Regions from separate parts of the Homo sapiens genome. Here region 2 is linked to region 1. The links are contacts of gene promoters, found by promoter capture Hi-C in blood cells and fetal thymus (Javierre and others, 2016). All regions are on one chromosome and are shown on one strand. The core of a region is centred on a gene start or on the middle of the fragment in contact, and the rest is flanking DNA. Distances in the headings are between cores, read along the strand shown. Region 1 holds the start of TRAPPC3 (trafficking protein particle complex subunit 3). Region 2 overlaps LOC124904012 (a long non-coding RNA gene).

The links. Contacts are between HindIII fragments. The CHiCAGO score rates a contact against its expected background, and 5 or more counts as called.
Region 2: a contact is called between a fragment that was not itself captured here and the fragment with the promoter of TRAPPC3 in region 1, in 15 of 17 cell types (naive B cells, total CD8 T cells, total B cells and 12 more). The highest score is 12.0, in naive B cells.

Annotation. Positions count from the first base shown.
Region 1 is chr1:36,147,725-36,151,414 of GRCh38, forward strand. It overlaps TRAPPC3 (trafficking protein particle complex subunit 3), which reads right to left and starts at 1,762. Exons shown (of 5, transcript NM_014408.5): 1 at 1,613-1,762. The coding sequence starts at 1,654. RefSeq lists enhancers at 1,432-2,092, 1,446-1,525, 1,656-2,315. The HindIII fragment of the contact is 15,390 bases long and covers 1-3,690 here.
Region 2 is chr1:36,388,057-36,391,746 of GRCh38, forward strand. It overlaps LOC124904012 (a long non-coding RNA gene), which reads left to right. Exons shown (of 2, transcript XR_007065779.1): 2 at 1-2,682. Among named protein-coding and RNA genes, the nearest start is that of STK40, 4.0 kb to the left of the region's middle. The HindIII fragment of the contact is 707 bases long and covers 1,525-2,231 here.

The DNA.
Region 1 (3,690 bases), core at 512-3,011:
TGACATTTGAGTAACTATGAATGAAGGCAGGAGTGGGCTAAGTGACTATCTAGAAGAAGGGAGTTCCAAGAGCCTTGAGGGCAGGAGTATGCTGCTGCCCCTCCCTAATTACCTTACTTCACTGAAACGAAGAATACTGGGGGCTGGGGGTAGAGTCTGCAGATTTTTGTTAAAGATTTCAATATTGATTTCAGGCTTAAAAAATGGATAAAATGAGAGCAAAGTACAAAAACTAACCAGGAAGACCTCTACTCATCTCATAGGAAAAGGAGAAAGAAACATTTACCATGCCCCTCACATTTTACACCATCCCATTTAATATTAGGTAGACATTACTATCCCCATTTTATAGATAAAGAAATTGAAGATCAATCAAGTAAGTCAGAATTCCAACCAAGGTCCATGTGTTTCCCCTTACCTGACATTGTTTCCTAACAAAATATTCTCGTCTTTTGGCCGGGTGTGGTGGCTCACCCCTGTAATCCCAGCACTTTGGGAGCCTGAACAGGCAGATCACTTAAGGCCACGAGTTCGAGACCAGGCTGGCCAACATGGTGAAACCCCGTCTCTACTAAAAATACAAAAATTGGTCAGGCGCAGTGGCTCACGCCTGTAATCCCAGCACTTTGGGAGGCCGAGACAGGCGGATCACCTGAGGTCAGGAGTTCGAGACCAGCCTGGCCAACATGGTGAAACCCCATCTCTACTAAAAATACAAAAATCAGCCAGGCGTGGTGGTGGACACCTGTAATCCCAGCTACTCGGGAGGCTGAGGCAGAAGAACTGCTTGAACCTGGGAGGCAGAGGTTGCAGTGAGCCAAGTTAGTGCCACTGCACTCCACCCCGGGTGACAGAGATTTCGTCTGGGGGCGGGGGGAGGGAGGGAAGAACGAAAGAAAAATGACCTAAGTCTGCAGCCCCAGCCCCTAGTCCAACTTTATAGGACCATATGGTGTCCAAACTATTCCCTGGGAAAGAAGGGAGCCACCCACTCCATTAGAGGGGCACCACTCACTGCTTACTCTGGCCCATCTCTTATTCCATTGAATAAAACGTTCCTTTCTGGCACGACCAGTATCTGAACATCTCTCACAATACCCACGCCACAGTACGAGACACTGTAGCCTAAGAGTAAAGCCTAACAGTCAGCTCCTAGCATTAGCTTTGGAGTTAAACACGGGTCCAAATCCTAACTTCCCAGGTGTAAATATGGGCAAATTACGTAAGCTCTCCAAGCTGTAAAACGGCAATGTTATCCATCTGATAGGGGCTACTCTGCAGATTAACTGAGATGCTGTAACGTGCGTGGCCCGGTGCCCAACACATAGTAAGAGAGAAGTTAAGTGGCAGTTATTGGTATTTATTACCGTCGTTGTTGTTGGCTTAGCACAGAGCTGCACTCAGGCCTTGGGGGCGGGGTCTCCTCCGGGGAACTTCTCCGACGGTCCCCTCACCTGCCTGGAACGCCCCCGGAGTGACCCAGCAAGAGGCTTCCCCTTGCCAGAGCTCACAGGAAGGCCCTTTTCCAAACGCACCTCGCGCTCGGCGCCGGGCCCCTTCCCTGTACGCCTCAATTTCGCCCCGCCCGCCGAGGTCACGCGCTCCAAGTTACCATTTTCTTGCTCTCGGTGCCACGGTTCGCCTGCCTCGACATGGTGCCGGCCGCCCCGCCCCACTCGCCTAGCCACGGGTTAGCTCGGCGACCCCTGCAGACGCCGGAGCCTAAGCCGCTGCCCCTCAGCCCACAAGACCGACCGGCACTGACTCACTGCGCCTGCGCGGCCTCCCGCGGGGCACCACGGGACTAGTGGTCCGGCCGACGTGGGCAACTCCCGCCCAACAAACGTCAGACTACAACACCCAACAGCCCCTTTGGCAGCACCGCCTCTTAACACAGTCAACTACAACTCCCGGAGTGCTCCGCGCGCGCCTGCCTGGTAGAGCCCAGCTTGCGCTGGGCAGCATCCTGGCCGCTGGGTGGCGTCCGCAGCCTTCGGTAATCCTGGGTCACACACACGCTTCCTCCTTGTCCCCCTCCCCCCGCGCCCGGCTCAGAGATGATGCTCCACAAATTCCTCTCTCGCCGGGGTTGGTCTTGGAAAGTCCCTCTTTCGAGCTAGCGTCTTCCGCTGTTGCGATTCAGCTCCAGAAGCTCCCAAGATGTCCCAGAAAACTAGCAATGACTCACACAGAATTGGCTTCTTCATTAGAAAAATATTTAATGACCTACTATGTGCCAAGCATTTCGCTAGTGTCTTTCTCTTCAGACTGCCAAACCCCAAATGATGCCAGCACCTGCCTTCTACCACCTGTGGCCTCGTGATGGAATATCCAGTCTTTTAGGTAAAGTTCAAGTCACTTTCTCCCCCTCCCTCCCCCTAGAACAGCTACACTGCCTGGTTCCCAGAAAACAAAGATCACTAACTGTCGTGGCCGTCAGTTCTGAGTTCTAATCCCAGCTTTGCCATTTTAGGCAAGTTGCTAAATCTCTCTCAGTTGTTGTAAAGACTGGTGAGCCACGCATGCCCAGCACTTGGGCGCATAAAAGGCATAAAAGAAACGTGTATTCCCTTCCAGCCACCCTCCAAAAACAAGCCAACAAACAGGCACCAGAAACACGAAGGGAATGTGCTGGCTGAACTCTCACCCATCACCAAGGGGAAGTCTATAGTCCCTGACCACAGCTCTTTGGTTTCAGCTCCCGCGGTCTCTCAGCTGGTCAACTCTGAGGAAGCTGGGCTGGGGGGTCCCTGAGCACTCTCTGTTCACTTAGGCCTGGTAGCCTGACTGTAGCAGCTGCATTCTGGCCCCTAGCCCTCACCATGACAACCAGCCTGTCCAGACACGAGCCAGCCAGGCTAGGGAGGGCTGGGGGGCCGCTGAGGCTGCAAGCTGGTGCCCAGGGTTCCCCCAGTCCCTCCCTCAGGGTGCAGGACCAATCATTATTATACCCTTTTCCCCAGACATTCTGTTTCCTCCCTAGAGGCAGTGACCCCTCACTCTCCATCCTGTGTAATGCCACAGGGGAGGGAGCCAAGGGCCGAGGGCTCTGGGAAGGAACTTGAGGGTTGGTTGGGGTTGGGGGAGGAAAGCAGGAGTCAACTAGCCCCCAAGGGCCAGCTCAGCTAGACAAGAGCCCTCTGCATTCCCAGGACAGAGGACAGCTGAGGTGAAAGCTGCAGTTGGCCAGCCGGTCTGTCGGTCTGGGCTCCTCCCTGCCGGCTGCCCTTGGCTGCCCACAGAAACCTGAGTCACACTCACAGCCAGCCACCCAACCCCACCCTGCCTGCTGTCAAGCAGGGCGGTTCTAGAGAGAGTGGAGGTGGAGCCTTTCCCTGCCTGTCCAACAGCCTCCGAGATTTTGCCTCTCTCTGCCTGGGATTCCTCCTCTTGGCGTCTCTTTCTCTTTGGGACTTGCAGTGTCATTAGTCCTGAATGAACAGTGGGGGTGGGGGCCATCTCAGGTTGATCTATATGATCCCCTCCTCACTCAGATAGGTTCTTAAAGGCTTCTTAGGCCGAGCACAGTGGCTCATGCCAGTAACCCCAGCACATTGGGAGGCAAAGGCAGGAGGAACACTTTAGCCCAGGAGTTTGAGACCAGCCTGGGCAACATAGTGAGACCCCCATCTCCATAAAAAATAATTTTTAAAAAGGCTGTTCTGTTATGAAATAGCCACTCTTTTGTTT
Region 2 (3,690 bases), core at 628-3,127, 240 kb after region 1:
TGAGTGTCAGACCTACACCCTGTGGCTAGGTACCACCACTGTGGTGAACAAAGGCACCTCTTATACTCTGTCATCAGTATGATGCCAAGAGTGCTGGGAAACAGAATAGCACAGCAGTTAAGATCATTGAGTTGGAGTCACACAGACCTGAGTTCAAATCCCCATTCTGTTGTTCACCTTGAGCAGGCCACATAACTTCCTTGAGCCGGTTTGCTCAAATGTAAAATGGTGCTATTAATATATGGGGTTTTTATAATGATATAATAAGATTACTTTCAGGGCTGGGCGCAGTGGCTCACTCCTGTAATCCCAGCACTTTGGGAGGCCGAGGTGGGTGGATTGTCTGAGGTCAGGAGTTCGAGACCAGCCTGGCTAACATGGCAAAACCCCGTCTCTACTGAAAATACAAAAATTAGCTGGACGTGGTGGCTGGTGCCTGTAATCCCAGCTACTTGAGAGGCTGAGCAGGGGGAATCACTTGAACCTGGGAGGCAGAGGTCGCAGTGAGCCAAGATCGCACCATTGCACTCCAGCTCAGGCAACAAGAGTGAAACCCCATGTCAAAAAAAAAAAAAAAAGGATTATTTTCATTCCACAAGATTGATGGAGTGCCCACTATGTGCAGAGCACTGAGCTAGATGCTGGAGATTCGGCATAACCAGACAACAGCTCTGCCCTTGTGGAGCATCAGAGCACCCAGCACAGGGCAAGTAGTAAAATTCAACAAAGAGTAGCTATTTTTCATTTATTTTATTTTAGAGACGGGGTCTTGCTGTTGCCTAGGCTGGAGTGCAGTGGCACAATCACAGCTCACTGCACCCTCAAACTCCCAGGCTCAAGAGATCCTCCCACCTCAGCCTCCTGAGTAGCTGGGACTTACAGGTGTGTCCCACCATATCCTGCTAATTTTTAAAAAAATTTTTATAGAGACAGGGTCTCACTGTGTTGCCAGGGCTGGTCTTGAACTCCTGGGCTCAAGTGATCCTCCCACCTCAGCCTCCCAAAGTGCTGGGATTATAGGTGTGAACCACTGCACCTGGCCAGTAGCTATTTTTCATGACCATTATGGTGCCCATCTTGGCACTCTGCCTCTAACTTAGCCATGGGACCTGGGGAGAGCCCCTTTCCCTCTCTGAGCCTCAGTTTCCTCAGCTGTAAAATGACAGAGTTGGACTGGGTCAGTAGCAGCAGTTCCCAACTTTCCCACCTTCAAAGCCTTTTTTAGTCTTTTTCCCTCTGCCTCCACACTATCCAGAATCTGGTGGGACAGTAACACTTTGCATTGTTTTTCATCTTTTCCTTGGTGTTCTCCCTCCTTCTCTTACACAGATAAGTTACTCTGTATTCATTACTTCGGGAAACAAATGATACAACAGAATGCAGGGCCTATTTTTAGCTTCTGAATTCCAAAAGCTTAGCTTTCAGGGAGGAATGGACAGAATTTCTGTGCAGACACACATTTAGAAAACTATAACGGGGATCTGGGAGTCTGAGATTGAGGAGGGGGGTCCCTGAGAAGAGAGAAGCTTCTCCTCAGTCTTGTAACTGGGAATATCATCTGGGTCCAAGGGATTGAGAAGCAGAGAGGAGCTGTGCTCCTTTTCCTGGGTGGGGCACCAGGGAAGTCACAAAACCCTCTGGAGAAATGGCTGCATGCTGCATTTTGGACAAACAGGGCCTAACTCACCTAAGACTCAAGAATTTCCTAGGCCTAACATGGCCTGGGGAAAGCAGAAAAACAAAACAAAACAAAACAAAACTCTGCACACCTGAGAGGGGTATGGGTTACACTTGGAGGGGTCTTTTGGTGGGGGGATGGGGAGCAACTCAGCAGCAACCTTCATGGGCTGATGACAAAAGGTCACAACCAGATGAGAACATCTCAGTGGATGCTAGTGTGACTGGATGACCAAATCAGACTATGCTTCCCATGCTTTGGCACCTTGAAAGGAAGAGCCCTAGAATTCCAACAGAATGCCAAGGAAAATGGGGGAACTGTGAATTGACCGCAATTAACTTTCTGCCACTCTGGCTGAGTAGGGCAAAATACAGGAATTCAAGTGAGTTAAAGAAAATTCAAGTTCTGTTTCTTGCACACCAGAAACTGGAACCAGCTACACTCTGTCCACAGGCCTTGTGTCATATGCCCCACCCCCTCCCATTTCTCCACTCTCATCTGCCTCCCTCTCCCCCAATAGCCACAGTGTTACTATTATTGTCCCAAATCCCCAAGCTTTCCCATCCCAGGACCTTTGCACAGGCAGTTTCCTCTGCCTTGTCCTGGCTTTTTAAATGACAGGCTTCTTCTCAGTTTAACTACTTTCCTGCTGGGTGGGGTGGCTCAAGCCCTTAATCCCAGTGACTGGGGCCAAGGCAGGAGGATTGCTTGAGGCCAGAAGTTTGAGACCAGCCTGGACAACATAGTGATACCCTGTCTCTTAGGGAAAAAAAAAAAAGTTACGAAATTAAGACACCACAGGTGTGTGGTGGCATGCACCTGTAGTTCCAGCTACTTGGAAGGCTGAGGCTTGAGCCCAGGAGTTCAAAGCTGCAGTGAGCCATGATCGCACCACTGCTCTCTTGCCTGGGCAACAGAGCAAGACTCCCTGTCTAAAAAAAAAAGATTTCACTTCCTCAGACTACATTTTCCAAAATAAAACTACCTGTTATTGTCTCTCAAAAGGCCCTGTTTATTTCCTTCAGGGCACCTGTAAATATTTTTACTTTTTTAGTTTATCTGTTTCCCTCACTAGAATGTTCACTTCCTGAGGCAAGACCCTTGTTCATCTTGATGTTCCCCAGTTGCTACCACTGTGCCTGGTACATAGCTGGTGCTCAAGAATGACCTGTGGAATGGCTGACCAGTGGCAGTTGGGGAGTTCCTGGCTTCCCACAGGCTGGTGGGCACTGGGCTCTCTCAACCCCTTCCTGGGCCCCTGATAGCCTTTTCCAGCAAGCCAAGACCAGATTACAAAAGACCCACCTTTGGGGTTTAAAGTCTCAGCTGTGCTCTAACCGAGGGGCTTGGCAAAAATGTGTCTCTGCAGGGCCTGGTTCCCCTCATTATCATCTGTCTTCCCAAGACCTTGCCTAGGAATGACAGAGGGCCACTGGGGTCTGGCACATGACACTTAAGGAACATGTCTTGAGCCTGTCTTCTCAGCAACCCACACTAGCCTTACTGCTTCCCTTGCTGCTCTGCTGAGGACGGAGAAGCCCTTGGTGTGCCATCACAGCCTCAGAGCTCGACCTTTCCTGCATCCCTAAGCCGAACCCCCAGCTAAGCCCTCTTCCATTTCTCACACACGGGCACACATGTGGGAGAGGTCTGCAAGGGAAGCTGCTGTGGGACTCCCACCAGTTCCTCATCTCTCTCCCCACTTGCGAGGGTATGGTGACGTTCCCACAGCGAAGGCCTTCCCTCTGCACCTGCCCTCTGGTTTCTCTTTCCAGCAGTCACTTTGTGGTGTCAGTCAGTCCTCTTAACTCCAGTTGTCAGAGGGGCCGGAAAATTCAGAAGTTTTCTCTGCTAGGACCCTCCGTTCTCCCTGAAGGCAAAGGGCAGAGTTAAGGGGATTCTAGACCTGTAGGCAATAAAATAAATACAGTATGCAAAAGAATCACGGTGGATGGGTGGATGTGAATGCAGATTCCTGGGTGCTAGACTCCAATTCAAGCTTGGGTAAGGAG